6 separate regions of the Homo sapiens genome follow, and all the other regions are linked to region 1. The links are contacts of gene promoters, found by promoter capture Hi-C in blood cells and fetal thymus (Javierre and others, 2016). All regions are on one chromosome and are shown on one strand. Each heading gives the region's core, a stretch centred on a gene start or on the middle of the fragment in contact. The rest is flanking DNA. Distances are from core to core; before and after follow the strand shown.

What was found. Contacts are between HindIII fragments. The CHiCAGO score rates a contact against its expected background, and 5 or more counts as called.
Region 2: a fragment that was not itself captured here is called in contact with the fragment with the promoter of RARA in region 1 in 4 of 17 cell types (M2 macrophages, monocytes, endothelial precursors and 1 more); the score reaches 6.3 in M2 macrophages.
Region 3: a contact is called between a fragment that was not itself captured here and the fragment with the promoter of RARA in region 1, in 5 of 17 cell types (activated CD4 T cells, total CD8 T cells, naive CD8 T cells and 2 more). The highest score is 6.4, in activated CD4 T cells.
Region 4: a contact is called between a fragment that was not itself captured here and the fragment with the promoter of RARA in region 1, in 1 of 17 cell types (naive CD4 T cells). The highest score is 5.0, in naive CD4 T cells.
Region 5: a contact is called between a fragment that was not itself captured here and the fragment with the promoter of RARA in region 1, in 1 of 17 cell types (neutrophils). The highest score is 5.3, in neutrophils.
Region 6: a contact is called between a fragment that was not itself captured here and the fragment with the promoter of RARA in region 1, in 1 of 17 cell types (neutrophils). The highest score is 6.1, in neutrophils.

Annotation. Positions count from the first base shown.
Region 1 is chr17:40,307,508-40,312,363 of GRCh38, forward strand. RARA (retinoic acid receptor alpha) reads left to right here and starts at 1,673. Exons shown (of 9, transcript NM_000964.4): 1 at 1,673-1,779. RefSeq lists enhancers at 1,100-1,985, 1,365-1,534, 1,545-1,674, 1,986-2,869, 4,459-4,856. The HindIII fragment of the contact is 5,393 bases long and covers 1-2,473 here.
Region 2 is chr17:40,442,590-40,447,393 of GRCh38, forward strand. IGFBP4 (insulin like growth factor binding protein 4) reads left to right here and starts at 861. Exons shown (of 4, transcript NM_001552.3): 1 at 861-1,495. The coding sequence starts at 1,147. RefSeq lists silencers at 758-947, 958-1,007, 1,018-1,067. The HindIII fragment of the contact is 929 bases long and covers 1,887-2,815 here.
Region 3 is chr17:40,511,508-40,516,543 of GRCh38, forward strand. No RefSeq gene overlaps it. Among named protein-coding and RNA genes, the nearest start is that of TNS4, 12 kb to the left of the region's middle. The HindIII fragment of the contact is 5,091 bases long and covers 1-4,286 here.
Region 4 is chr17:40,489,176-40,493,955 of GRCh38, forward strand. The region is part of intron 2 of TNS4 (tensin 4); the gene reads right to left. Among named protein-coding and RNA genes, the nearest start is that of TNS4, 10 kb to the right of the region's middle. RefSeq lists enhancers at 1,312-1,937, 4,302-4,780. The HindIII fragment of the contact is 1,364 bases long and covers 682-2,045 here.
Region 5 is chr17:40,109,888-40,114,753 of GRCh38, forward strand. No RefSeq gene overlaps it. Among named protein-coding and RNA genes, the nearest start is that of MSL1, 9.6 kb to the right of the region's middle. RefSeq lists enhancers at 248-1,188, 3,645-3,864, 3,885-3,944, 3,975-4,762, 4,763-4,866. The HindIII fragment of the contact is 2,120 bases long and covers 595-2,714 here.
Region 6 is chr17:40,064,046-40,069,004 of GRCh38, forward strand. The region is part of intron 1 of THRA (thyroid hormone receptor alpha); the gene reads left to right. Among named protein-coding and RNA genes, the nearest start is that of THRA, 3.6 kb to the left of the region's middle. The HindIII fragment of the contact is 1,656 bases long and covers 1,321-2,976 here.

The sequences.
Region 1 (4,856 bases), core at 423-2,922:
GTCAGCTGCAAGGTCGGGCTAGGGCAGCCCCCTCTAGCCTAGGCCTGTAGAAGCTGTGGGTTCACAGTGGGGGGTGAAAAAGCTGGAGTTAATGAAGACCAGCTGCTAGTCTGGGTTCTGCCTACAGCTAGCTGGAGGCCAGCCTTTGGTGGTGGTTGATGGGGGGGTGGGGTGACCTCCATCCATGGGCACAAGGATATCCTGTGGCAGCTAGGCTTGTGCTTCTCTCTGAGCTTAGTTTTATCCTTAGTTTATAAGAGAGTATCTGTTTCCTTCCCCTACTCCTCTCCTCCCCAAATAACACTCAGCTCTTATTGAACTTTATAACTGTAGTGGTGGCCCAGCTGAGATCTGAGGATCTCCAAACCCTTTTGTAAACACTCATTAACTGCCTGGGAAGAACGAAGAGCCCTGTTTAACAGCTGGGAGAGAACTGAGGCACATTAGGGTGAAAGGTTTGACCTAAACTCACCCCATGGACTCCACCCTGGGGCCTTCCATCCTTAGTCCAGCTCCTTTACTCAGTTCTTCCTGCAAGACAGAGGTGGAGGCATTGCTGGTGTCTTCTCCCCTTCTAGGGAGAGGCCATGCCCTCTCCCCTCAAGTCTGTCGCTGACTTCCTCTGGCCCTTCCCCTCATGACGTTTTCCCTGCTCTGCTGCTAGAGATATGTGCAACTCTCCTTGCAAAATGTTCTCAATCCACAACTTCAGAATTCTTATCCAGCTTTCTCTTGCCCATCTAGCCCACCAAACCTGAATTCTCCCTTTTGAGCTACTGAGAAGACTGGCTATACTAAACTGAATCAGTGACCTTGAAGTTGATCTGTTGTATTGAGGTCCCTCTGCCCCTATATTTATCCTAAATGGTATCTAGGAAAATATTCTCTCTTTAACTTGTTTATTCTGGTCATAAAGATTCGGGACATTACTGAGGGCTGGGTAGGGGCACTAGTTGACCTCTAGGTTCTACGTCCTGTTCTTCCACTGACAATTACCATTTCCAGTAATAGGTGTAACCCAAAGTTCTTTTTTGTTTTTTTCTCCTTCCCTAACCCCACCTGTTTATACTCTTGCCTATATATGTGTATTTGCAGACCCCACACATTCCCAGATACACATACATTGGTCCTACATGTTTCCCCTGTTTCCAGCTGCCATCTAAGTGAGCCTGCACTTTTTACATGCTGAAAATCTTTTTTCACCCTCTATGGCCTCCTAGGTCCTTGGGAATAATTGGGAGGGATGAAGGGACTCCTGCAGTCCATGAGGAAGAGGACAGAAGTGAGCGCCCAACCAAAATGAATGCTCCCTTTCCAAAATCTCTAGCTGAATGCCTTAGCAGGAGTGGCAGGGAAAGAGATCTTAACCCCACCTCCAGCACCAAAACCTAAATCCATCTGCTCAGGGCAGGCAGGAAGAAATGTCTATTTTCTCCTGTTTCAGGTCATCCTATCCTCGAGTTATCCATATGCTGTGTATTTGAGACAGGGAACTGTTCCTGTCCCCAGCCGATGACCAGACGCCCATCTTTCTTCCAGTGGGTTACTTCTCCCCCATCAGTCCTTCGCTCTGCGCCCGCTGACCCAGTCGGGGCTGGCTGGTGGAAGAGGGCGGGGAGAGCCTTCTAGTTGGCGAGTGGGCTTTAGGACCCAACGGGAACCCGTGCCTCTTGCAGCAGCCTAACCCAGAAGCAGGGGGGAATCCTGAATCGAGCTGAGAGGGCTTCCCCGGTTCTCCTGGGAACCCCATCGGCCCCCTGCCAGCACACACCTGAGCAGGTAGGACCATGCACACCCCTTCCCAATTCTTTGGCCGCCTTTGACCCCGGCCTCTGCTTCTGATCTAGCCATTTCCTTCTCGCCAGTTCTGGCTTTCCCCATCCCTCCTCTCCCGTCGCTCACTGTAGTCCTGGGAGGTGGGAGCCTGGGAACAGTGGGGTGTCTGAAAGCTCAGAGCCCTCTGCACCCTCCAGCACCCTTCCTGCATTTCTCCTGAGGCAGTTCCCGTTCTCTAGATAAGAGTGGGGAGTAGGGGGAAGGTCTGCCCAGGCCCCACGCCCTTGCACCCTCCTTTGCGGTATTGCCTAATACCCCTTCCCCCACCTCACCTAGACTGGAGAATTGGCAAGTGCTGAGGTAACAGAGAGAGGAGAGAGCCAGAGAGGGACCTGAGCTTTCCCAAGGGATTTCTTTCTTGCTTCCTCACCCAAAGAGCTCAGGACTTTGCCCCTACTCCCTACACACCTTGTAGGGGAACTAATGTCCCCTTCCAGGTTCATCTCACACTTGGGTGGCTAAAGGCTTTGCTAGAGGGTAGTGGAGGTTGTGAGCATTTTGGTGAGCTTTTCCTCTAGGAAAGTTCTTTCAGCTTAGAGCCCCCATCCATGTCAACATTTCAACACCTGCTGCAGAAGCCCCCCGACCCCACCTGTGTGTGTGTGTGTGTAGGGACAATGTGGTTGTAAGATCTAGAAGCTTTGGATAGAGGTGGCTGCATGCATTGAAGGGGAGGGATACCAGAGTGTGGCCCAGGCCAGAACAGGCTCAGTCCAGATGGCTAGGGAAGGGGGTGTGGACCAGATTGAGGAGGTCACCCAGCCTTGCCAGCTCCCTGAGCTTCTTGGCTTTCAGAATCTCAGGCTCCTGGTGTTTCTCTAGAGCTACAAGGTCCCCAAGCTTCTGCCCCGCTACAGGCTCTCTGGGAGAGGGCTAGATGGCACCTACTGTTTACAGTGGCTTATTTTTCTCTCCTGTGGTGGGCAGACAGGCCCTGCTCTCTGAAGATCTAGGGCGTGTCATTCTGGTTTGGTGGGTTTACAGGAAGGGTGTACACCTTGTCTGACTTACCATGTGTGAGTGTGTGTCTTGCTTCTGGGGGTAGTAGACTGGGGAGGGGGGTGATAGAAGAGACTGGTCACACTGAGGGAACTCCTCTAGCAATCAATGTATGATAGGAATGGGTGGCATGTCCCCATCTGGTAGCTCTGTCTAGGTGTGGGGTGTGCTCTGCATTCTTCCATGGCTCCCCGGGTCCCCTAAAGGTTGGTTTTAGAGGACAGGGTGGATAATGAATTGGCTTCAGACTTCGTTCTGGTCTTGATCCAACAAGGAAAGTAGAGATTCTGACTGTGAGCAGTGAACTAGGAATCAGAGGCCTGAACTGGAGACTTAGACTGGTTACTTAACTATATGTGTTTATATAGGTCTTCCCCTTTGCTAAGCCTTAGTTTCTCCATTTGTAAAAATGGCTATCAGTAGCAAGCAGGGACATTGCCACTAAAACCACAGAGACAATGTATCGTAAAGCTCACTGCAAACGGTAGTAATGGCTGGGGGAATCTAGGATGGAATCCTCTTCCTAAATCTAGGTCAATCTCTCCGCCTTTAGTTTTCTTCCCCCATCCTTTGCCCATCTGGGGGATGGAGGAACTAGGCAGGGCTATTGCCCCGGTTACTGCAGAATTCCCCTAATGCAGGTTGTAGCTGTTACCAGAGCACCTGTGGTCACAGAGTACAGATCTCTCCACCAGGCATTTCTTCCTCTGGGGCCCCATACTTGCTCCCCTGAGCCATGTCTCCACCTTCCTTCTGCCATCCCTGCTTGGCGTCCTTGTCTCTCTCTCCCCTGCCCAGTGGCCTCCTTGTCTGGCTCACTGGGCAGGAGCCCTAATCGGATTCGACAGCTGAGATATGTGTGGCGGCTAAGAGCAGGCAGGAGGGAAGCCAGTGGGAGGATGGTATGAGGACTGCCCCTGGCACTGCCCCGGCCTCCCAAGCACCACCTTGGGCCTGCTGATTTCTTACTTGGCTTGGCCCCAAGGAAGGGGTGCCAGAGGAAGCTCAGGAATGAACAGGCTGGGGTCTGGAGACTAGGAGAGGAGGAAACACACCAAGGTCCTCAGGACCTGGTTGATATTCGATGACCTTAATGTCAGTGTCACTGACTCTGACAAGGAGGAAAGGACAGCGATGAGCCAGGCTGACCCCCGCCACCCCATTCCCATAGCCCCACTTTCTTCTCTCTTCTTGTTCAGAAATGTTTCACTTTGCCTCATCTAGCCCCTTTGGCCAGTAGGTCACATCTGGGAGCTTCTGGGGGTGCCACATGTCTGCCTCAATCTGGGCTGTTTCCTCCCCTCCAAGATATTTCACTGTCTCTGGGCTGGGCGCCAGGACTCCTGGGTTTCCCTGCCTGTGGTGCAGGGCTCCCCTGCAGGGCTCCAGAGAGTCGCTTAGCTGGTTTCCTTCCTCCTTTGTGGGGAGGGCCTTCCCCTAGGGCTGGGAGGTGTCAGGAATCCCAGGTGGGACAGGGGTGGGGGCACAGTAGCCTCTGGCACTGTAGCACCCCAGCTTCTCCCTCCTAGCCTCTGACTCAGCTTGGGGGCAGCACATGCCCAGCCTGGCAGGCATGGCCTATTCTTGCCTCCAGGCTTCTCTCTTTACAGAAGCCTACATCTCCTGCTCTCATTTTTTAGTTTTTTTCCCCATGATATCTGCAGGTGGCTAGTGAAATCCCTGGTTTTGGGGAGCAAGGGACTAACATAATTGAGGCTGGGGCACTATTTTGTCTTCCCTCCAGTTGGGCCAGGATGAAGGAGACTGTCACAAACTTCCCCAAGCCAATTCCTTCTGCCCTCAAAAGACCAGTCAGTGGAGCCAGGCCCTGCCCTTTGGGTGCCCACAATGTGGTTGGCACTGATTTGTCAGAAATTGGGAAGGTTTCCCTCTAGACCGCTTGCCTCCTTTCTCCTCCTCCCGCAGGGTAGGGGCAGCTCTGTGATTGCAGGCACTTATGGGCAGGCCTCCCCCTAGGAAAGGGGTGTGGGATGCCCCCAGGATGGCCAAGTTGGCGCTAG
Region 2 (4,804 bases), core at 1,101-3,600, 140 kb after region 1:
CAAATCCTTCACTGCCATCTGGGAAATGATCACAACAGCTCTACAAATACACAATGATTACAAGGAATGGTGCCCCACTGGAGTTGTTCAACGCAAAACTTGCACATTGCAAGTGGCAATCTCCCAGGCCTGCCTCCCTCCACGAGTGGGTCTGAATGGGCCTGAGAGGCAAACATCCAAGAAGGAGGAAGAGGCTCGGCGGCACCTCCCTCCCCGGGAGTTCTGCTGATTCCATCTTGGGGAAGCAGGGTGGACCAGGGCCCAAATGCGCCCTGGGGAGATTGCGGGGGCGGGAGAGGTTGCAAGGGGCAAGTGGCAAGAGCCTGTTAACGTCTTAGGGCCTCCAGGCCTTTCTGTGCCCCTAGCTGTGCCTGTACGCTTTACCCCACCTCAGGAGGCTTGGTCTCCAGCGGTTGAGGCTGGAAGCACCGGGGTGCGGTGGAAAGGGCTCTGTCCAGGAAGACCGGATCCGCAGAGCCGGGAGTCCGGGCTAGGAAGTCCCTTTCTCGGTGGGAGACTGAGGCCGCCTTGGCGGGGCGGGACGAGACTCCTCCGAGGTCGGGAAAGGGGGCCCCGCAGCAGCCCCTTGGCTTCCCTTCTCCCTTGCCTCCCCTCCGGGGCTCCGGTTCAGAGGCACTCTGGGCGCCTGCTACAGCTTCCAAACTGCGCCGCTTCCTTCTTCGGCAGAAAAGGACTTTCAGATGCGGCGGCGGCGGCGGCGGCGACTCAGGACAGCGCCCCCTCCCCCTAACGGCCGCCTCTCCCTCTCCCCCTCGCCCGCCCCGGCTCCCCCACCTCTGGGAAGGCGCTGGGGGTGTGGCCAGGGACCGGTATAAAGTCCGGGGGAGCCGGTCCCGGGCAGCCGCTCAGCCCCCTGCCCCTCGCCGCCCGCCGCCTGCCTGGGCCGGGCCGAGGATGCGGCGCAGCGCCTCGGCGGCCAGGCTTGCTCCCCTCCGGCACGCCTGCTAACTTCCCCCGCTACGTCCCCGTTCGCCCGCCGGGCCGCCCCGTCTCCCCGCGCCCTCCGGGTCGGGTCCTCCAGGAGCGCCAGGCGCTGCCGCCGTGTGCCCTCCGCCGCTCGCCCGCGCGCCCGCGCTCCCCGCCTGCGCCCAGCGCCCCGCGCCCGCGCCCAGTCCTCGGGCGGTCATGCTGCCCCTCTGCCTCGTGGCCGCCCTGCTGCTGGCCGCCGGGCCCGGGCCGAGCCTGGGCGACGAAGCCATCCACTGCCCGCCCTGCTCCGAGGAGAAGCTGGCGCGCTGCCGCCCCCCCGTGGGCTGCGAGGAGCTGGTGCGAGAGCCGGGCTGCGGCTGTTGCGCCACTTGCGCCCTGGGCTTGGGGATGCCCTGCGGGGTGTACACCCCCCGTTGCGGCTCGGGCCTGCGCTGCTACCCGCCCCGAGGGGTGGAGAAGCCCCTGCACACACTGATGCACGGGCAAGGCGTGTGCATGGAGCTGGCGGAGATCGAGGCCATCCAGGAAAGCCTGCAGCCCTCTGGTAAGGTACCCCTGGCCTCCCAATTCCCTCCTGAGTGCGCTCCCTTCCCAGCGGCTTCTTCCCCATTCCAGCCGCCCTGGAAGGCCCTTAAAAATCCCCTATGAGTTGAAGAGAAGGCAGGTACGTGGCAGGGCCCGACTGGCATGGGACAGGCTCATCAAGGAAACTGCTACCGAGTCCCTAGCAGCCTGTTGCCACCACCAAGGGAGACTGTCCCATCGCTCCATCTCAAACCTCCAAGGGTTGTCTGTTTGATAAGGGGGTCCCAGTGGGAGGCCTGGCTGCTGGTGCAGGAGTGGCAGATTAAGGTCCAGTTAAGTCAGCTGTCTAGGGCCAGAGAACTGGAGGATGGTGGTGGGGTGTGTGTTGGGGAGGATGAGGGAGTGGGGAAAGCTTTCTGTTCCTGATCCAGGCCGAGGGTGAAATCCCAGTGGTCTGGGGAGCCAGGGCCTGAACTTTTTTTTTACATGGTCCAGTGGTGGAGTGGGACATACAAATTAGAGGGACTTTGGCGTTGAGGGGCATTAGACTTGCCCTTCCCCAAAGCCCAGAGCCAGGTCACCTTGTTGTTTGAGAGGCAGTGGGAAGACAGGGGTCCCTCTGCCAGGCCTGGACACCTCTGCCTGCCCTGGTATACAGGCCCCCTGTTCTTTTCTCCAGGCAGGTAGGATTTGAGGTGGTAGAAAAGTCTTGGCTCCTAGCCGAGAGCTGCAGGAGCCTCATGTGTGTGGGATAGGGAATAGAGAAGGGGCCAGGGCGCCAGGGGAGAGAAACAGAGAGAGAGAGAGAGAGAGAGAGAAACACACACACACACACACACACACACACACACACACACACACAGAGACAGAGAGAGAGAGAGAGAGAGAGAGAGAGAGAGAGAGAGAGAGAGAGAGAGAGACTCTGAGAAGGCCCTTGCCCTAACCTCATTCTTACACTTTCTTTTTTTGTTTCTCAGTTTCTCCTTAGACTCTCAGTCTCTTTTCCTTCTTTCTCTTGCTCTTTTGTTCTTCCTGATTTGTCTCTCAACCTCTAGTTTCACTAGTCATGCTCTCGAGTTCTGTTTTCCTCAGTGTCTTCTGCCCATCGTGCGTTTCTTTCTCCACCTTATTCTGTGTTTCTGTTTCAGTTGCTCTGCTTCTCTCCCTCTCTTTCTGTTGCTGTTTCTCTGTGTCTCTGTCACTGTTGGTCTTTCCCTGTTACTTTGGGAATCTCTCTGTCTGTCTTTCTGTATCTATGCCTCTGTTTCTCATTCCATCTCCGACCCTGTTTTGCTCTCCTGTGCCTCTGTCTGTCTCTGTCTCTTTTCCTGGTGCTTGAAGCTTCCATTGTTGCAGTCCGGATGCTGGGACTCCAGCCCCAAGCTTCCTGTCCTGGGACCCAAACCCTCCACTTCCTCAATCCTCTGCAGCTTGTCAGCCGAGGAGAGCAGGATGCAGGGAAAACAGGAAGGAGGTGGACTCCAGGGGTCTGGGCCTCGGGCCTCTCTGCCCTTCCTGCCCCTGGGTAGGGAGAGATGGGTCAGCAGAAAACATTCTAGGAGAAATGCCAGCCTGGCACCCAGCATATCTGGGAAGGGGGGTCCTGGGGGAGAAAGTCGCTAATCTTGGGGCAGAGATGCCAGTGGCAATGGTAGAGGAGGGGTACTGAGACTGGGAGGGAGCAAGGGCCGAGCCCTTGGGTTCGCGGGGTACAACAGAGTCACGTTCCCTTTGAATCTCCATCCTCCACCAGCCAGAGGGTATCTGGCACCAGATAAGGATGGCTGGTAGCCTCCTCCTCTCTCAGCACTTTGAATGCAAGACAGAAGAGCCCTCAAAGGGCTGGGTAGGAATACCTCATCCTCTGGTTGGGTAGGAATACTCCATCCTGTAGTGGAGGAAAATAAGATCCCCTAGGGGTTTGGGGAGGGCATGGCATGAGAATTTTGTGGTTGTCCTCTGGATATAATGCAAACTGGCCTCCAGGAATATCTAGGGGCTGGGTGTGGAGGTTCATGCTTGTAATCCCAGCACTTTGGGAGGATTGCTTGAGGCCAGGAGTTCGAGACCAGCCTGAGCAATATAGCCAGACCCCCGTCTCTACAAAAAAAAAAAAAAAAAAATAGGCAACTGCAGTGGCTCATGCCTGTAGTCCCAGGTATTTGGGAGTCTGAGATGAGAAGTTCAAGGTTACAATGAGCTATGATCACGTGATTGCACTCCAGCCTGGGCGACTCTATTTCGTAAAAAAAAAAAAAAAAAAAAGTAGGCCGGGTGCAGTGGCTCACACCTGTAATCTCAGTATTTTGGGAGGCTGAGGAGGGTGAATCACCTGAGGTCAGGAGTTTGAGACCAGCCTGGTCAACATGGTGAAACCTCGTCTCTACTAAAAATACAAAAATTAGCTGGGCATGGTGGTGCGTGCCTGTAGTCCCAGCTACTTGGGAGGCTGAGGCAGGAGAATCACTTGAACCCGGGAGGTGGAGGTTGCAGTGAACCAAGATTGTGCCACTGCGCTTTAGCCTGGGTGACAGAGCGAGACTCTGTCTAAAGAAAACAAAACAAATAAACAAAAAAAACAAAAAACGGTGTCTTGGAATGGGGTGGCTTTAGGTCCCCTTTGGATGACACAGCCAAGGTCTGTAATGCCCCTCCCCCTTTCCTCCTTGCCTTGTCCTCCAGCCTCCAGCCATGCAATGGATGCAGGTATCTGGAGAGAGACGAGGGAAGCCTGGAGGTACCTACTGAGCAAGCTATGCCCGTGCCCTCCCACACCTCCTAGTCATCATAGAAGTAATCCCTTGCTGTGACCTGGGCCACATGGCACCATGTAAAAGGCACTCTCTAGAGTTCTGCTGCAGCCCTGCAGGGTCTGTGGGTGAGATAAGACGACCAAGCCCCTACCCACCCATCTTTTTAGCCTTACACAGTCAGTAGGCCACTGTCTGCTTTAGGTCCCAAGGTTTGGGCCCACTGGCCCGCGAATAGCTTGGTCGAGGGTACCTGTCTATTTTTTCTGCCTTTTCCTTTTGGGGCTGAGTGTCAGCAGGTGGCTGGGGGAGGGTGGCCACTTGGCATGCCCCCTTCTTTGGCTGCTATGGTCCAGCTGCCTCCTGTTTGCCCCAGGGGCAGATCTCCCCTTTCCGTCTCCAGCCACCCCTGCCTGCCCTCCTGTCACAGCTTTCCATGTGCTGGCCAGGTTGTGGCTTAACACCACTGAGGCCACCAGAGATGAGGCGGGGCGTGTGCATCAAAAGTCCACACCTCTGCATCCTGGTACTGATCCTAGACTCATGGAATCTGGGGGAGTGGACAGCGGAAAGATCAG
Region 3 (5,036 bases), core at 491-2,990, 200 kb after region 1:
CTCCATGCTGGAGCTCATTTCAGCAGCTCATTCCTTTCTAAGGCAGAATAACATTCCATTGCACGGATAAACCGTATGTCCAGGGGCCTTTCCTGCCAGGATCAAAGATGGTATTGGGCTGGGGCTTGGGAGAGGTCAGCTGGTGACTTTACCTCTTTTTCTTTTTCTCCTCCATGCCTCTTGGGGTTTGTCACTTTAGAATATGCTGCTGAGGCTTGGGGACCCAGGGAGACAGCCTGTCTCACCATGTCCCCTAGTCTTTGCAACCTGATCCTGAATCCTGCCTGGCGGTGGCGACAACATCAGACAGAGCTGGAGCTGGTGTGACCCCATCCCAGGAGGATGCTCCTATTTCGGGGATCCCAGCTGTCTCTGGTCAGGGTGCCTCAGCAGAGTCTAGGAAAAGCCAAAGCCCATCTCTGGTGACAGCTCTGAGGTCCGACAGTGGGGAGAGGTGGTGGGTGGGGGGAAGGAGTTGGGCTTGCTCAACTGCCGTGCCTGTAGGGCGGAGGGAGTCCATCCTGGCACGGGGCACAGCAATCGGACCCAAGCCCAAAGAGATGCTTAGCTCTTCACTTGTGGAGCCTATTTTCCAGAGAAATTTAATTCCACATTGTTTTTTCTCTGCTCTGCAGACGCCTCGGAGTTCTGTGCCAGGAACCGAGCTGAGGAACTCAGCTGAGGAAACCACGGGAATCTCATTTGAAGAGGAATTTGGCCCCTGGAGCCCCCTCCCCACTCACTGGTGGGAGGGTGCCAAGACTTCAGTCGCCGCCGCCACACCAGCAAACCCCAAACCACAGGAATGCAATGGGGTCACCTGGGGACAGAGGGAGATGGATGGACAGCGAGTAGGCAGTGAGCCCTTGGGCCTGCATCGCATGGGGTCTGCTATTTTGTGACAAAAGCACTGGACTTGGTCCCCAGGCCTCGGTGTGGATTCAGGCCTCGGTGTGGATTCAGGCTTGCCACTCGGGTCATGGGGTCTTGGGTGGTCACGTCTGTGGCTAACCACGCTCACCTGGCCACTCTGGCCTTTGGACCAACTCGGGCAAGGAGCTGAGCTTGACGGGGAGGGAAGCCACGGATTGGGGTGGACGGAGGCGGTGAGTGAGAGTAGAGTGTTCTGGTCTCCAGGCTCTGCAGGCTGAGCAGGGGAGGCACCCAGCACTTGTTACCCAGGGAAAGGAAACTATGTCGATAATGATTTGTCAGCTATGGGTCAAGGACTGCTCCAGGCACTTTTTTTTTTTTGAGACGGAGTCTCGCTCTGTCACCCTGGCTGGAGTGCAGTGGCGCAATCTCGGCTCACTGCAAGCTCCGCCTCCCGGGTTTCACGCCATTCTCCTGCCTCAGCCTCCCGAGTAGCTGAGACTGCAGGTGCCCGCCACCATGCCCGGCTAATTTTTTAAATATTTTTAGTAGAGACAGGGTTTCACCGTGCTAGCCAGGATGGTCTCAATCTCCTGACCTCGTGATCCGCTCGCCTCGGCCTCCCAAAGTGCTGGGATTACAGGCGTGAGCCACCACGCCTGGCCCGCTCCAGGCACTTTATATAATACATTGCATTTCTCCTTACGGTGGTCCTCTGGTGTGGCTGGCATCATTCTCTTTTATAGACAAGGAAACCAAGAAAGGAGAAGGGGACTCCCCTAGAGTAACAGGTACCAGGGGAGGGGCTGGGCAGAGGGTGGTCATCCCCGAATGCTGAGTGCTCCACACCATGCCACTGGCCCCCGACTCAGTCCTCAGACTTGTTCCTTGGTGAGATCACAGTTGAAATAATAGTTTTCTTCCCCTTAACTCCTCCTAGTTAAGAAAGGAATCATAGTATTTTTGAGCTGGAATGGACTTGGGTACAAGTTACCATTTTACAAACGGGAAAATTGAGGCTCAGAGAGGAGAAGCAGCTTTTCCATTTGAATCTTCAAATGAGATTCCCGTGGTTTCCTCAGCGGAGTTTCTCAGCTTGGTTCCTGGCACAGAATTCCTAGGCGTCTGCAGAGCAGAGAACAAACAATGTGGAATTAAACTGCCCTGAAAAATAGGCTCCTCAAGTGAAGATCTAGAAGACCTTCCTGACTTTTATCACCCAGGAAGATAGCAGATCTAGCTCCAGATGCTCTCTGGCCATTTGGGCCACATGGGTAGAATCCAGGGTCCCTGAGGCCAAGGCTGTCTTTAGTGCCCAGTGGGACAGAATCTCCTTGCTCTGCCCAGGTTCCACACCTGTCTGTTGGTGTGACCCTGCATCCAACCTGAGAGGCCACTGATGGTTTGGTGCACCCTGTCCCCACTATTATAACCCTGCTGGGAGGGTTCAGGAGTGCCATGTTGGTAGATGAAGCACTGCTCTATTTTGTCCCTCACCTTAACAGGCACATGTCACCTGTACTTGGTGGCTCTATCCAGCAGAAGGAGAGAAGGTGGGAATGAGTGTCATCGTGGTTCAGACACTGTCCAGTGGGGTCACCTTAGCTTAGTCACTTCATATATGGAGGGATTCCTGGGAGCAGGCTCTGTGCTAAGGTGCTGGGGAAACAAAAATAAAATAATGTCCCTGTTCTCAAGGAGGAGCTCACAGTCTAGTGGAGAAGGCAGACCTGCAGTTTAACGATGGCTATTTCATGATGTCCTTGCTCTGCCGAGGAGGAGGTGAGCAGCACAGTGGGAGCACGGAGGGAATCAGGACCTCCGTGCTCCCACTTGCTAGAGGAGGCAGGGCTGAGATACAACGAGAAGGGTTATTTGCCAGGTGGACAAAAGCAGAGGTCATTGAGTTTAGAAAGTGGGTTCAGGTTGGGTGCAGTGGTGCACATCTGTAGTCCTAGCTACTTGGGAGGCTGAGGTAGGAGGATCCCTTGAGCCCAGGAATTTGAGGCTGCAATGAGCTATGATGGTGCCACTGCACTCAAGCCTGGGTGACAGAGTGAGATCCTGTCTGAATAAACAAACAAAAAGCAGCAGACTCAGCAAGTGCAAAGGAATGAACATGTGGCAGGGAAATGTGGAATAACTTGGAAGAGTTGGATAATACAAAGTGGCATGTTGGCAATGATGGTGCGGGGATGTTAGGCTGGCGAGGCATTGGGAAGCATGAAGGATTTCAAGCAGGGGATGGACACAACCAGATCTGTGTGTTGGAAAGTCTGCCTGGGCTGCCCCACAGAGGGCATGATGGGGGTGGGGAGGACACCTGGAAAGCTGATACCATGATCTGGGTGAGATAGGGTGGGGTAGGGGAGTCACCCTAAGGCTGGGCAGTGAGAGAAGTAACAGGATTGAGGGATTGTGCTTAGCTGGTTTGGGCTTGAGTGACTGGGTAATTGGGGGCACCATCCATCCCAGTAGGGAAACAGGAGGTATGTAGGTTTAATGGTGAGGATGGAGATGCATATGCATTAAGTTTGAGGACCTGATGATTTGAGGTGCTCATGGGACATCCAAAGTGAGATGTCTGAGGGAGAGCTGATATAAAGATTTGGAGGCCAAATAAAAGTTAGGGCTGTAGTTTGATATTTGGGGCTCATCATCCTACATCAAATACAGATGAGTTAAGGGGCCACAGAATGCTCTGGAAGCTGCACAGGATGACTTTGGTGCCCTGTGCATCCACCGTTGGCATTCGCTGTTCCCCTGCATGCTGAGGCTTCTGCCTGCATCCCTGCAGTTCTGCCAGAGGCCTTCTCTGCAGACAGAAGCAGGCTGTCTGTCCTGTGCATGGGACAGGTTAGGAGTGTTGTGGAGTTGATGACCCCAGGAGCAGCCTTCAGCCAGTGACAGATGCGAACTGGATGATGAAAACCATCTTTACTTCCTGTAGGTGTGTTCTGCCATCTCTCAGGGGCTTCCAGTGGGATTGCGTTTGAGTTCCCAGTTGCCCACAGGGGCTTGTCAGTCCTCCTCCATTGGCTTCCTCCCCCTTTCTGTGTCACTCTTCCATTTCCCTACAGTGCTTCCTGGGATCACCTGCCAAGTCAATGAATCTCATGCTCATCCTTGTCTCAGAGTCTGCTTCTGGGGAACCCGTTCTAAAACACTGGTTTCCTTCAGTAGGATGTGCGTCTGCATTGACTGCTTCCTGTCTTGATTGCTTCTTCATGTTTCCAGCATGTCTTGACTCTCAACTGGCCTGGAAGTGGCTTCAGGGTGTTTTCATCTCTGTGTCTCCAGCACCAGGATGCCAGGGGAAGGGATTCCTCAGCAAGCGGTTGTTGGATATATGAATGAATAAACCCACCAGTGGCTTCTCATTGCTTTTAGGATCGAGACCCAACTGTTCAATAAGCTTCACAAGGCTCCTTCCCACCTCTCCACCTCCACGTCCCGCCACCCTCCCCCACCCTCTGATGGTGCGTGTGGCACATGCCGGTCTCTGCCTGACTGCTCCTTCGCCAAGCCATCCTCTTGACACAGTACTAGTTCACACCTCCTCCCCCATCCTTCCCTTAGCACTCCTCCATTTCCCACTCCCCGCCCCCTTCTCAGAGAACTCAGGCATCCTCTCTGCAGCAAAGATGTCCCTGACCACCGTCCCCAGCCCAGACCAGTTGGGGCCCTACTGTTCTAACCTCCTGTAGCACTCTGTGTATTTCTTCATGCTCCCTATCATTGACTTCGGTTATGAATTTTTTTTTTTTTTTTTGAGACGGAGTTTCGCTCTTGTTGCCCAGGCTGGAATGCAGTGGCGCGATCTCGGCTCACTGCAACTTCCGCCTCCTGGGTTCAAGCGATTCTCCTACCTCAGCCTCCTGAGTAGCTGGGATTACCGGCATGCACCACCACGCCTGGCTAATTTTTTTTTGTATTTTTAGTAGAGATGGGGTTTCACCATGTTGGTCAGGCTTGCCTCGTACTACTGACCTCAGGTGATCCACCTGCCTCGGCCTCCCAAAGTGCTGGGATTACAGGTGTGAGCCACCATGCCCGGCCTTGGAATTATTTAAATAATGCTTAGAATGATGTTTCTCAAACTTTTCTGATTATGAACCACAGGAAGAAATACATTTTATGCCAGGACCCAGTTCACGTAATAC
Region 4 (4,780 bases), core at 114-2,613, 180 kb after region 1:
CAGTAGGGGACCCAGGCCTTGGAATCAGACAGACCCAGGCTTCAGATCTGGCTCTGCCACTTATTTTCTGAGAGAGTTTGGCCAAAAGACTTCACCACCCAGGGCCTCAGTTTCCACACCTGTAAAGTGGGGCAACTGCATTCAGCCTTTTGGTGATACAAAAAGGATGAAGTGAAACTCATGTAGGCAGCACAGCACTGTTCCCGGCACAGACCAGGTGCTTAAAAACTGGGCAACTCTCTCCTTTGTCTGTGCCCTGTTCCTAGGTTGAAATGGCCACTTGATGGGTTGTACCAGTGACACTTTCTGATGCCTCTGCTACTCAGGATGTGTGAAAGTGGTTTCTCTGAGGCTGGGCGCGGTGGCTCACACCTGGAATCCCAGCACTTTGGGAGGCCTAGGCGGGTGGATCACCTGAGGTCAGGAGTTCAAGACCAGCCTGGCCAACATGGCAAACCCCATCTCTACCAAAAATACAAAAATTAGCCGGGCACCTGTAATCCCAGCTACTTGGGAGGCTGAGGTACAAGAATCGCTTGAACCCGGGAGGCAGAGGTTGCAGTGAGCCGAGATTGCGCCACTGCACTCCAGCCTGAGTGACAAGAGTGAAGCCCCATCTCCAAAAAAAAAAAAAAAAAGGAAGTGGTTTCTCTGTACCTGCAGTGAAAGCAGGGATTCTCAAGCTTGGTTACACACTAGACTCACCCCAGGCTGCGCCTTGTGCCAATTAGATTAAACTCTCCAGGGGGTGAACCCAGGCCTCAGTTTTGTTTGTTTTCCAGTTTTTCAGGTGAGTCCAGTAGACCATGAATGGCTCAGCAGGACCACATCACCTGGGCTCCACCCCTACAGAAACATAATCTGCATTTTAGCGAGGCCACCCAGGGCATGTGAATATGCAGTGGAGTCTGAGAACCCTGCTTTGGAGCAGGCACTCCCTGAGCACAGGGCTTGCTGCATTCTTGAGCTATGGATCTCCTGGGGATGGTAGCTGGTACACAGGGGTCACCCAACACACCCCAGGCTGCCGACGCGCTCCAGCGCTCTTTCCACTCCCTGGTCGGGGCATCCAGGACTCTTGGGATTCTGAGGCCTTGTTCCTCTCCCGAGGTCGGCCTTGCAGTGGGCTGCTCTGAGGTTCTCCCCAAGGTGAGGATGAACACCCTTCCTCCTGACCTGGGGGAAGGGAATTGTCCTTGGTGCTGTTCCAGCAAAGCTGGAGGAAGGTGGGGGTTAATGAGCCGCTCCTTTCTGAAGAGTGTGAGTCTTGCCTCTAGCTTCCTGGGATGGAGGCTGGGGAAATTGGGGAGAACGTGCACCCTCAGCTCCCACCTGCCTGGGGCCCTGGCACATGCACTGTTCCTCCCCATTATGACTGTGGAGCCCCAGCCTGCCCCAGCCCGCTCCTGGGTAGGGCCATCTGGCCCTGCTCACAGTTACTGCCTCTGTCTGAGCTTGCTTGGGCCACGGTGGGGGTGGGGAGTTACATCAGATGAGCAAGGGCTGGCAGCTGACTGGGACTTGCTGCTCAGCGGGTGGAGGAAGAGCCTAGCTTTGTAGCAAAACAAACCTGGGGTGAGTCCTGGCTTTGCTGCTTTTCAGCCAAGGGCATTGTGCAACTTTCCTAACCTCTCTGAGCCTCAGTTTCCTTATCTGCAAAGTGAGGATCTGAAACCAGTCTTCCAAGGTTGTGATGAGGATGAAATACAATAGCCGGGAGCCTGGCCCATGGTGAGGCTCGAGAGAGGAGCATTTCCTACCTGCCTGCTTTTTGGGGACAGTATTGGCCAAATGGAGCCCTTTTCTGGCTAAGGTGGGGATCTCTCTGCTTAGAAAGATGACTGCAAGAAGAGAGTGTTTGGGGCACTGCATTGTGGGCTCTGGAAGAAAAGAGATCTTGGAATGGGTTGGATTCTTCTGGAAGGCTGGAAAGCACAACTTCAATTTTTATAGGACTTTATAGTGTTTACACCCATAATCTCCTCTGAACCTTATAATAGCCCTTGAGCAGGGCAGGCATTATTTTTTACAGAGGAGGAAACTGAAGCTTGGAGAAGAGTGGGGATGGAGCTAACACTTAGTGTACAACGATGTTTCACAGAGACTGGTCTTTATTGAGTGCAATGTGCCAGGACCACTACGAACACATTGCTTGTATTAGCTCCTTTAACCCTCATGACAACTCTGTGGAAGTAGGGGATATTATTAATGCCCATATAACAGATGGGAAATCTGGAAGGCTCAGAAAGGTGAAGTGAGTTATCCAATGCTGCACAGCCAGGGAGTGTTGTTGAGCTCTGTTTAGGGACTGCTTCTTCCAGGATGAGGAGGGGCTCCTTGGGAACCTGCTCCAAGGCCTTGCCCTGTGAGAAGGTGCTTGGCTGCTTTGGGGAGGGTCTCTTGGCACAGTGAAGCTCTGGGCTCCCTACTCACTGGGCCATTGAAACATCCATCAGGGACCTTGCTGGGGTCACTGAGTAAGGAGAGCGGGAGGGGAGGGAGGAGCCCCGTGCTCACCTCAAGGTGGGTGTGGCTGGGGGGTGGGGTTGGGGCCTCTACCCATTGCAGGGGTGCAGTCGCTGTTTACTGGCCTGTGGGGCAAGTCTGAGCAGTGCTGGGTGGGTGCCGGCGCCAGCCCCAGGCAGGCGGGTGAGTGGAGGGAGGGCGTGTGGGTGAGGGGTGGAGAGATACTTATTAAATACCCTTCACTTGGGGCGGGTAAACAGCCTTGCCTGGCAGACATTGTTGGAAAATGAAAGTGGGGGGCCTGTTCCAAAGATGGGGTGCGGGGTGTTGGAGAGGATAAAGAAAGGGATATGGTGTTTGCTTCTAGGAACCACATTCTCTGTGGGATGGGGGCCCCCAGGGCAAGTTTAAAGGAAGGCAGGGGCAGGGAACCTGGGGAAGGTTTGTGAAGCACCCAGGAGGTCGCGCCTCAGAAGAGGAGCCTGCAGGCTGCCTCCAAACGGATGGATTCCGTGATGCCCCAGAGGGCAGAAGACTAGACTTTAGAAAGAGAGAAAGGACAGTGGCCTATGGAGCCCAGAGCCTGGGATTTGAGGCCTGACCTATCTCTCCCTGACTGTGTGACTGTGAGCCATCACGTACCCACCCCGAGCCTCAGTTTCCTCATCTGTAAAAGGAGGTTTCCACTATTTCCTTCAAAAGCCAGACACTGGGATCATGGATTACATGGAGTCTTTTTTTTTTTGAGACAGGGTCTCACTCTGTTGCCCAGGCTGGATTACAGTGGCGGGATCTTGGCTCACTGCAGACTCCACCTCCAAGGCTCAAGTGATTCTCCCACCTCAGCCTCCCAATAGTTGGGACTACAAGTTCATGCCATCACACCCAACTAATTTTTGTATTTTTAGTAGAGATGGGTTTTCGCCATGTTGGCCAGGCTGGTACATGGACTAGTTTTTTTTTTTTTTTTTTGTTTTAAGCCTGGGCTGGGTGATATGGCTCATGCCTGTAATCCCAGAACTTTGGGAGGCTGAGGAAGGAGGATTTCTTGAGGTAGCCTGGGCAACATGGTGAGACTCCATCTCTACAAAAAGTTTAAAAATTAGCCAGGTTGGCAGGGCATGGTGGCTCATACCTGTAATCCCAGCACTTTGGGAGGCCAAGGTGGGCGAATCACCGAGGTGGACGAGGTCAAGAGTTCAAGACCAGCCTGGCCAACATGGTGAAACCCCGTCTCTACTAAAAATACAAAAAAATTAGCTGGGCATAGTGGTGGGCACCTGTAATCCCTGCTACTCAGGAGTCTGAGCTATGAGAATCGCTTGAACCTGGGAGGCAAGACTCCATCACCCACCAAAGAAAAAAAAAATAAGAAATTAGCCGGGCGTGGTGACATGTGCCTGTAGTCCCAGCTACTGGGGATGCTGAGGTGGGAGGATTGCTTGAGCCCAGGCATTCAAGGCTGCAGTGAGCTATGATCACACCACTGCACTCCAGGCTGGGCAACACAACGAGACTCTGTCTCAAAAAAAATATGTATATATATTTAGGGGAAATGTCAATATAGAATTGCCAATGTTTAATTTTTAAATTCTGCCAAGTTAGGACAAAAAGGAAAAGTAAACATCTCCTAGCACGGTAATGTCAGAGTGTCTTTCCTTGAACAGCCCAAAAGTAGGAAGGATGAGATTGTAAAATGGCAGGGGATCCTCCACTCTGAATACATTTCGAGGTAAGAGAACTCACCACAACGCTCAGAGTTGTACACTGCTATAGGCCAGTGAGAGATTTGTCACCAGCAGTAGGGTCTGCGGGGAGGATTTTGGGTGCAGGTGTCTGCTGTTCTTAGTGATGGTGGAGAACTTCCCAGTGGGGAGCTGACCTGGCTGGGTTGTCTTAGGAGGTAGTGAGCTCCCAGGCATTGCAGGTGTCCAGGCAGACGTTAGAGGAAGAGATTTTTTTTCTCCATCAGAAGGGGCCAGGGCACAGAGAGGCAGCTTCCTCAGGACCCTCTGGCCACTGCCTGCCTTACATTCCCTGTTCCCCAGAGTTGGGTGGACACATGTTCACAATGGCATGTGGTGCCCAGGGCATCTGTGGATGTGGACCCATGCCATCAGCCCTAAGCTGATCATGAGCCCCTTCCGTGGAGGAAGGGCCTAGTTGTCACCAACCCCCACCCAACATTTGAGGACGTTCCACAGGGACTGGTTTTGCCCCAGCTGGCCTTGGACATGTGGAAATCCAGTCCTGGGGCATGAACGGTAAAACCCTGGGCTTGCTCCTGCCAACAGTAATTAGGCCCAAGATGCCT
Region 5 (4,866 bases), core at 405-2,904, 200 kb before region 1:
TGGAGGTAGAAATTAAGCCCTTATCTATTTTTGCTGGCCATGGGGACCCCAAGTTAGTTAACAGCCATAGGCTCTTGACTTCCCATGAGTAACTAAAAGAAGATGAGGACCATGCACACAGGCACACACAAACACTCCCTGCGATCTCAGATGCTAGGGTAGGGAGACCAAGAGAAGGAATGAAGTCCCAGAAGGTTGGAAGTTCCCTGGGTAAAATGAGTTTAGCAGATAACAAGCAGGAAAAGTCTTTCAATAGGGGAGGGCGGGGTCATCCCTGGCCTACTCCACCTTCCTGAGACCCAGAAACTGTGGCCAGAGGAAACAAAGGGTCCCTAAGGCAAATCACAAAAGCTCCTGAGAATGAAACCTGAGCCTGGAAAGAGAGTAGAGAATGAGGGATGGACACCAGATCCAAAGGGTTCCCTTACACAGGCAAATGGGGGTTAGGGGGTTGGGAGGGATGTGAGCCATGCCCAGCCCCTCTCCTTGGGCCTTCTCTCCATCACAGGCAGTTCTCAGGAGCAGAACTCCTGTTACTGTCTCAGTCTGAGCAGCTGACTCCTGGCCTCTCCCTGCTTCATTTTTTGAGGAATAAGCTTTTCTCTGATTCTCACAGAGCCCTTTCTTTTGCTTCTCTGCAAGGCTTTCTCTCTGTGCCTGAAAGGCTCTGGGCTCAAGGAGCAGACAGCCCTGCAGGCTCAACTGCAGTGACCTACATTGGCTCTCCCCTAGGCCCTGGGTGCGGGGGCTGAGATTTCAAGATAGGAACCTGGGAATCTGGCACAGGTCTACAGATGATGACATCAGGCAGACAGGCTGCAAAAGTGGCATTGAGGGACTGGACCCTGAGGCAGGGGATGCCATAGGACTATGTTCTCACTTTGTCATTTGAGGGCTTTTTATGGACAAGAGATCAGAAGAGATCAAATGCAAAAACACCTGAGCAGTGACCCCTTGGAGAGGAGCCAGTGGTCCCTGACAGGCCCAGTCTCTATTAATGAGATTTGGGAGTGGTTTCTGCCTGCTCCCTGTTCTTGCTGAACCTACACTGGTCTGCTGCAGGGGACTGGAAAGATGATGTGGAAGAATGAGTTCGGATTTCAGCTGATTTATTTCAGGGAAACGAAGGCTGGGTAAAAGTCAGATATGCAGAAATCCACGTACTCCCAGGCTTAACTATAATATAGAGACCCTGTATTTCTTTAGACTCAATGGTTCTGAGAAGGATCCAGAAGGAGCCCTCAAGATTAATTACCATTTACAAAGTCCTTACCTCAGGACCCTGGCAACTGAATCCCTCCTTCCAGCTACCAGCCTTCTGGAACAGAGAAGGCAGCTTCTGAAATAGGTGCTTTCCCTCTCTCCCACTATAAGCCACAGTGTTTAGGATGACCACTGCTTCCAGATTGTGTGATTTGCCCTGGCAAGGAAATCCTATTGTGGGGGGAGGAAATGAGGCAGTCGTGACACAAAGTGATGGATGAGCCTTTTGCTTAGCAGAGAGAGAGAGAAAGCCGGCAGGCTGTGCAGAACTGAGTGGCTCTTGGGTCCAAAGGGCTTCCCCTTGGCCAAGTCCCACCCCAAAGCCCAGGAAGTCCACAGCTTGGCGCCCAGTCAAGGCAAAAACATTCCTCAGGACTCTGACAGGCTGGGGGATGGTTCCCACCACGAGGATGGGGGAGGGGAAGGAAACACGCGGGGGAGGAAATGACCACAAAGAAGGGGGTGAGGGTAAGAGGTGGGGAGTGAGTTCTCAGTGCCCTGAGTCCCTTTTAGAGAGAAAGGTTGAGGCTGGACTCATTGGCTTGTGAAGGACTTGCAGCTTCAGAGCACATGACTTCTGGGTCACCCTTCTGCTCAGGGTCATCCCTGATGACCCAAGGTGTCCTCTGGAGGCTTGTTAACTCAATCTCCCTCCTTACGCAGGGGCTGTGGTTGAGCTTGGGAGCCCCTGAGTGGCTAAAAGCTGGAATTGCAGTTGTGCTGGGGGAGGAGCCCATCGGGTCTCCCTCTGCCTCTCCACCTCCGCCCCTCCCTTTCCCTCTCCCTAAGCCCAGGACTCTGGAAATAGCACCTGGTAATGGGAGCGCTGACAGATGCTGAGTTATAGGAGAGCAAATGTCCTGGCTAGAGTCCTCAACATTCTAGTTTGATCGCTTTTGGGCTGTTTCCCTTGAAAACACGTGCCCCAGCAAGGATTGAAAAACTACCTATTGGTACTATGCTCACTACCTGGGTGACAGGTTCAGTCATACCCCAAACTTCACCATTACACAATATACCCTTGTAACAAACCTGCATATGTACCCCCTGAATCTAAAATAAAAGTTGAAATACACACACGGAAAAATAGGTGCCCCAGGACTACTTCCATTGTCTTCCATAAATTACTGTTTAACATGCCCCTGGGTAGTGTGCTTCCTGGCTACTGAGATCCCCCTCCTAGGGCTCCCCGGCTTGTAGCTTCTGGACCATTCACTGTCCATGACCCCTATGACCTTGGAGGGAGAAATGGCCCCACAATAATTCTGATTTTAAATTTACCCCTCCCTACCTGCACTACTTAGTCCTAGTTTTCCTCCTCTGAGCCTTGCCCACAACTCCTTCCCCAAGTCAGCCTCCAACCTTGAATGTTCCCTCACCCCCAGTTCCCTACCCAATCCCCCAATCCCACATCTCCTGTAGGGGATAGGAGTGAGGTGAAAAATGGACAAAGCTTAGAAATTTTTCCAAGGAAACTAGTTCCCTCTGCATGGCTTCCTTTGACCTATTTTCTAACTTTCCCTGGTTAGCCCCCTTGTTCCATGTACCAAGGCTTCCCACTGGACTAATTTTTGCTGCCCCGCCCTACTCCTCCTTCCTCCAACATGATCTCCTGGGGCTCTTCCCATCCAGGGAAAATGTTCCCCAGTGCTGAGAGAGGGAGAGATTCCATTTTGGAAACTATGTCAGCTTGAGGAGTCCGAGCTCTTAAAGAGACAACTAGAGTGTTGCTGGGGAAGCGGGTAGTGGTAGTGAGCAAAAAGCAGCTCACCCACCCAGAGGAGGCCCTGTTCCCATCACCCAGCCCATAATTAGGGCATTCTTGGCTCTTGTCTGGAATGGGAGGATCTGAGTGCTCTGCCAACATCATGAAGAACTCAACGGGAAATGGAGTTGGAGTAGAGGTAACCAACTTTGCAGCTGGAAATTAAAATTTTATTCAACTCCACCCCCAAGTAATTTTATTTGATGACATCCTTCTCTTGCATTTGTCTCATCGTTTGATTGTGTAATCCTTAGCCAGGGAGCTATGTAGATATGAAATCATTTTAAACAGAGGCAGCTGCATTCCCCTATTGTACCTGAGCCCTCATCAGCTTTCCTCCTCTCAAGCTGCTGCCCCACATTCACCCTGAAGGGGGCACTTTTGTTCAGTCGTTAGCTGGTGCCAGCTGAAAGCGAGCTCCAGGAAGGAAACATAACAATTGGTCACATGTTGGGGTGAGGGTTCTCGCAGGGGCTGCTGGGACAGGGAAGGGAGGTCCACGTGGAGTGGGCGGAACGCGCTGAAAGTTTTGGCGGGGCTAGCAGAGGGAGAAAAATACCCAAATTTGAGTTGTGATTTTTAATAGGGGGAAAAAAAAAAGGCAAGGAGGGTGTGTCCTACCCTCTGAGAGGCCCCCGCAGAGGGGAGCAGGAGAGCAGCACACTAGCATCCTGCTCGCGGAAGCCTGGAACGCAGGACATGGTTTCTGCCAGAAAGAGCTGAGCCAGGCCAGGCTGCGGAGCTGGAAGCCTCTGTGGCTCCACGCTGGCTTCCCATCCCCCATCCTCCCGGAGAAGGCAAAGGTGGCCTCTCCAACTGTGGTGTCCTTTCAGTGTCACAGGACTGGGGTAATACCAGTCACACAACTCCAGTCTCTATTTACCTTTCCGAGAGCTTCAGGAAACCACCCAGATGAATCCTCTTTCCCTGGGGAGTGGCCAAAACAAGTCTCCTCTTTTTTCTACCTACTTCTGCCCCACTGTTAGCTGGAAAACGTAGCTTTATACAGTCATAAAGCTGCAAGGGACCTTAAAGATGATTTATTTCCATTTTATTTTTTGGTCTGGGAAAACCAAGCCCAGTCAAGTGAAAAGTCTTGCTGCATCCTCTTTCCACGACATAGGCATTCCCTTCAAAGAATGTAGGTCATAGAAATGGAATTCTGCCATTCTATAAGCCTTAGAGGGGTGGTGAAAGTATTGGCTTTTAACTCTTTCCATACTCTTAGCCAGAAGGCAAAAAGAATGGTCATTATCTCATTAGGGACAGAATTGCTTAGGGAGGCCCGACACTGTGGCTCAATCCGGACACGGTGACTATAATCCCAGCATTTTGGGAGGCTGAGGTGGGCGGATCACCTGAGGTCAGGAGTTCGAGACCAGCCCGGCCAACATGGTGAAACCCCCGTCTCTACTAAAAATACAAAAATTAGCCGGGCATGGTGGCAGGCGCCTGGAATCCCAGCTACTCGGGAGGCTGAGGCAGAAAAGAATTGCTTGAACCCAGGAGGTGGAGGTTGCAGTGAGCCGAGATTGCACCACTGCACTGTCCAACCTGGGTGACAGAGCAAGGCTTCGTCTCAAAAAAAAGAAAAAAAAAAAAGACTTAAGGACTTGATTTATGGTCCTAAACACAGTTTTCCTAGGCTCCCTCACAGCTGGCAACTCCACTTTGCCCCTCTGGGCCTTTGAGAGCTCCCTTCTTTACATTTCTTAGTTCAGGGATCACCACAGCTTAAAACTTAATGGTTTGGAAACAAGAATTCCTTTCCCTTCTTAGAAGACCTTCTCTTCTCAGGTTTCAGTTTTCTGGTGGTTTAGCCAGGTCATCCTGTGTAT
Region 6 (4,959 bases), core at 899-3,398, 240 kb before region 1:
GCAGACACAGAGATATGTCCACACAGACAGCCACATGCACATCCAGGGACACCCAGGCAGACTCAAGGACAGGAGCTACTGGACACACCCACATGGGGACAAGGGAAGAGACAGGCTGCTGCTGCACCGTGGAGCTCTGAGGGGTGGGATATACCCATGGGAGACCAAGAGCATGGGGACCGATCCATGCACATACCCACGCACAGGGTCACACGTAGATGCTGTCACACACTGGGGCAAGGAGGAGTTGCTGTCACCCACACATAAAAAGTCACTGTCACATGCATGCATGCACACAGAGCAATTGCACACAGCAGCACAATTACAAAAGACCCTGTCACTCACAGGCACACACGTGCTCGCATGAGCCCAGTCACACAGACATCATTGCTTGCCGTGACAGTCGCTGTCACTCAGTCAGATGCAAACACAGTTACACACCAACACATGTATACACAACTTAGCAACAAGTATTTTCCTGGACTCTTTACTGTGGAGCTCTGAGGTTCTGTAGGCAACAAAACCCTTGCTCCCAAGAATATTAAATTTGGCTGTATGAAAAAGTGTTCCTGCGTAATGGTGTAAAGCATGCATTCCCAATGACATGTTCTTGGTCTCTATCGCTTGAGATACCACCCTACTAGACAGTGAGCTCTTGGAGACCTGGGAGAATCACTTAAAGAGCTCTGGATCCCACGCAGAGCCTAGCACAAGGGCTGCTCTGTAAATACTTGTTAGTTGATTGACTGTGGAACCTGCAGACACAGGTGCACTCATTTGCACATGGTCCCCTGAACTCAGGTGCAGAATGAGTTCACAAGGCCCAGGTCCCCACAGTTGCAGGTCCACACCAACAGTCGTGTCCACACAACCCCAGATACACACAACTGCAGCCTGTGCAGCCGAGCACACACTTAGATGCACACAATCACAAATTTTTCCCCTTCAGCTTCCTCCTCCCCTTTTTCCTCTAGGCTCAGCCACTGTGCGGGAATGGGCTGTTTTTTTTTTCTTTCTTTCTTTTAGAGGGACAGAGAAACAAGAGCAAAGACAGTGGGTTCAGGGGGGTTCCAGAGGGCCGAGTCATGGGCTCAAAGCAGTGTCCAGTGACTTCTAGAAGCTAGGATTCTCTTGACTGTTGGGGAAGGGGAGAGCTGCTCTCCTCCCTACCCTAAAAGCTCAGGGGTGTCTAACTGCCCCTGCTCTGAGTCATTTGCCTGGGTCTTTCCTGGGAACAGTCAGTCACTTCCAGCTGAGTTCCTGCGCCCCACCTTGAGTCTGGCCCTTTTTCCCACCTGTACCCTCCTGTCCAAACTTGGAAGCTTTCCTTAAGAGGCCATCGGCTGGCGAGTGTCTGTGTGAGTGATATGTACTTTTGACTTGGAATTTCTCTCTAACTCTGTCTCTCTGTTGCTCTGTCTTGCAGTGTCTGATTCTCCCTCTCTCTCTCCTTGTTTCTCTGCCAGTCTGTAACTCTCTCTCACCCTGTTGCTACCCCCGATCTACCCCTGTCCTTGTCTCAGAGCTGGGGACTGGCAGCAATGTTCTTCATACTTTTCCAGTTGTTAATACCCAAGCTCCGCCCCTCTGCCCCCCCTGCGCAGCCTCTGGGGTCAGCTTGAGGTTGGGGTGGGGGGCGGGGGGCTCAGCTGGCTGCTCAGGACTTCCTGCACTTCCTTAGTGCCGCAGCTGTGGCCAGCAAGTTTTAGGGGCTGGGAATGGGGGAAGGGGGGGGGGGTCAGCCACTGCCCATGCTGACCCCTCGGGCCTGCATGTCTGGAGACACCAGTTCTGTGGGCACCCTCAGGGTGCAGGCTGCAGCCAGCTAGCAGCTCTTAAACAAGCCATGAAGAGGCTCCCCCCACACTGGCCCAAGCTGGAAAAGAACCGCCCCCATGGGCAGTGGCGGGAGCTGGCAGGACCCTGCTGAGTTGGGTCCACTGCAGGGCTCACAATGGCCTTTCTCCACACCCCTGGCAGCTGAGGCCCACCTCAGAGATGCCCAACAGCTGTGTCCTTTTTGCCCAGCCTCAGGGCCTGGTTCTGAGGGCACAGCTGCCTAGACTAAGTATGTACTAAGCGAGGCCCTCCCACCCGTGAGTGCAGGTTCCAGCCTAGAAGGGGTACCTCTTCTGGAGAGGGAATTTGAGGAGGGGGAACTCAGGCAGGAGACATCGAGCCCGGGGGCACCAAGCACTTCTCGCTATGCTCCCCTCTAGCCTTGGACTATTTGGAGGTGGAGGCACTTGGCAGAGAACCCACAGGGCAGCTACAGAGGGGAAAGACTGAGGCTTGGTCTCAGGGAACACATAGCTGGATGAAAGAACAAGGCATTGGGCCGGGCACAGTGGCTCACACCCGTAATCCTAGCACACTGGGAGGCGGAGGCAGGCAGATCACCTGAGGTCAGGAGTTCAAGACCAGTCTGACCAAGATGGTGAAACCCCATCTCTACTAAAAATACAAAACTTAGCTGGGTGTGGTGGCGGGGTCCTGTAATCCCAGCTACTCAGGAGGCTGAGGCAGGAGAATCGCTTGAACCCAGGAGGTGGAGGTTGCAGTGAGCTGAGATTGTACCACTGCACTACAGACTGGGTGACAGAGCGAGACTCCGTCTCAAAAAAAAAAAAAAAAAAAAAGAAAAACAAAAAAGAACAAGGCATTATCTATCAAGCAGGTGATATACCATCACAGCTAAGAACAGAGATGATGGTGATGATCATGACGGCCATGATTGACCTGGACTGCCTAGGTCTGAATCCCAGCTCTGTCACTTGCTGGATGTGTGACTTTGAGCAAGCGATTTAACTTCCCCGTTGCCTCATCTGTAAATTGGGGATGATCATATCTACCTCATTTAGCTTTTTTGAGGAAAAATGTTTTTAAAAGTGCCTAGTTCATAACAAACTGTATATGTGAGCGGTTGTGATGGGTGAAGGAAGCTGTGGGCCTGGGGTCTCCCAGATTTCTTAGAGAAGCTTCGTGGAGAATTGGGTCTCCTAGACATCAGTGAGACTGGGGCCTGGGGCAGTGGGTCTCCAATTTCCAGCCTTCTCACCGTCATGTAATCTTTTCCTCCCAGACAAATTTTTGCAGCCTGGAATGAGTGTATGGGAAAGAGCCCAAGGCAGGCCCCTCTGCCCCACCCTCCTTTGACCCTCGCCCTTCAGCTTACAAGGAGCCCTTGGCCCCTCAGCCTGGGACACACCCCACCAGCTAGGGGCACCTGCATAAATCTTTGGGCATCACTGCATCTCTGTTCAGGGTCTGAGCTCTGGGGGTGGGAGAGAGAGAACAAGGAAAGCCGTCCCCTCTCTTATGTGTGGGCTCAAAGAGGAGGCAGTGCCCTTCCTCCCTCCTGGGAGCCCAGCATTGGTCAACCAGGACCCAGCTCTGGCTGATAGGCACCAGATTCCCCTGCCCTCCATGGAGTGGTACTTAGTGTGAAAGGTGGTGGCAGAGAGAAACTGAAGCACTGAGTAATGACCAGTGTGGTGGGCACAGCACTTTGAGATCCAGCATCTGTCCTGGGTTGCCTCTTTGCCTTTGTGAGTCTGGTGATCAGGATCCCCTCTCCAAACCCCTTTTATTTAGCCCTGCCCCTCAAGGTGAAGGAAGGACAATGGGAGGATACCCTGTAGGGGTGACGGGAAGCCTTTGGAGTGGGAACCAATCTCAACTCTAGTTCTCGGCTGGGCACAGTGGCTCATGCCTGTAATCTCAATATTTTGGGAGGCCAAGGCGGGAGGATCACTTGAGGCCAGTAGTTCATGATCAGCCTGGTCAACATAGTGAGACCCCATCTCTAAAAACAACTTTAAAAAGTTAGCCAGGTGTGGTGGCGCATGCCTGTGTTACCAGCTACTTGGGAGGCTGAGGCCGGAGGATCGCTTAAGCCTGGAAGGTCGAGGCTGCGGTGAGCTGTGATTGTGCCACTGCACTCTAGCCTGAACAACAGAGTGAGACCCCCCACACACACATCCTCTCAAAACAGACAGAAAACAAAACAAAAAACCCAACTCTAGTTCTCATGGCTGCAAAGGTGTCTAGGGGACTTTGGAGAACTGTTGTGTCTCTTGGGGAGGGAGGCAAGCATGACCGTGGTGGGAAGATCACTGGCTGGGAGTTGGGAGGCCTGGCTGTTGACATTCACTAGTCGTATGACTTTGGGCCTGGGTTTTCATTATCTAGAGACAATGGTTCCTGTCTCACTCAGGTTGAGGGCAAATAACACAAGGTGGGATGACCCCTGTGTTCAATCCATGTTGCATCCTGGCATGGTGAGCAATGCCTGTGGATTCTCCTTTTTTCCCAGGGCCTGGCACATGCCAGGGTGGGGCATACACATGCTGCCTGGAACCAGAGACAGTTCTCAGTCTCTCACTGAAGTATCTGGGGCTGGTGTGTGGTGGGGGCACATGTGGTTCCACCTTGGTGTCACTTGGCAGGCCAAAGCTGGGGTCATAGGGACCTCCCTCCGGTATGCCATTGCGTGAGGTGGTCCAGAGGGAGGGTCAGAAGTTTGCTGGGTAGACAAGGGAAGCAAGATGGGTGTTACTGGTGCCCAGGAAATACTATCCTTGCTTCGCTGTTTTGGGGGTGGGCATTAAAGGTTGATACCAAAGCCTCAGCCATGCCCCTCAGCAGTGGCCAAGAGCAGAATGATTGGACCAAGCCCCTGGCCCACCTCCTCCTCCTCCTCTTTTCCTCTTCTAAAGAAGAGATCGGCTCTTGGCTCCCAGAGCCCCAGCTGCCTGTTTCTTTTTCTCTTTTACCAGGCATGGGGGTGGGGAAACAGGGGAACCGAGGCTTTGGTGTCTTTCGGCATTTTTGTACACATCAGTGAGTGGGTGTGTTGTGCACGCATCCATGTGAGAGTGTTTTTGTGCATGTGTGGGCTGGGGAGGGCTCTGAATATCTCCTGGAACGGTACCCAGAGCCCTGTGGCTCTGCGCATGC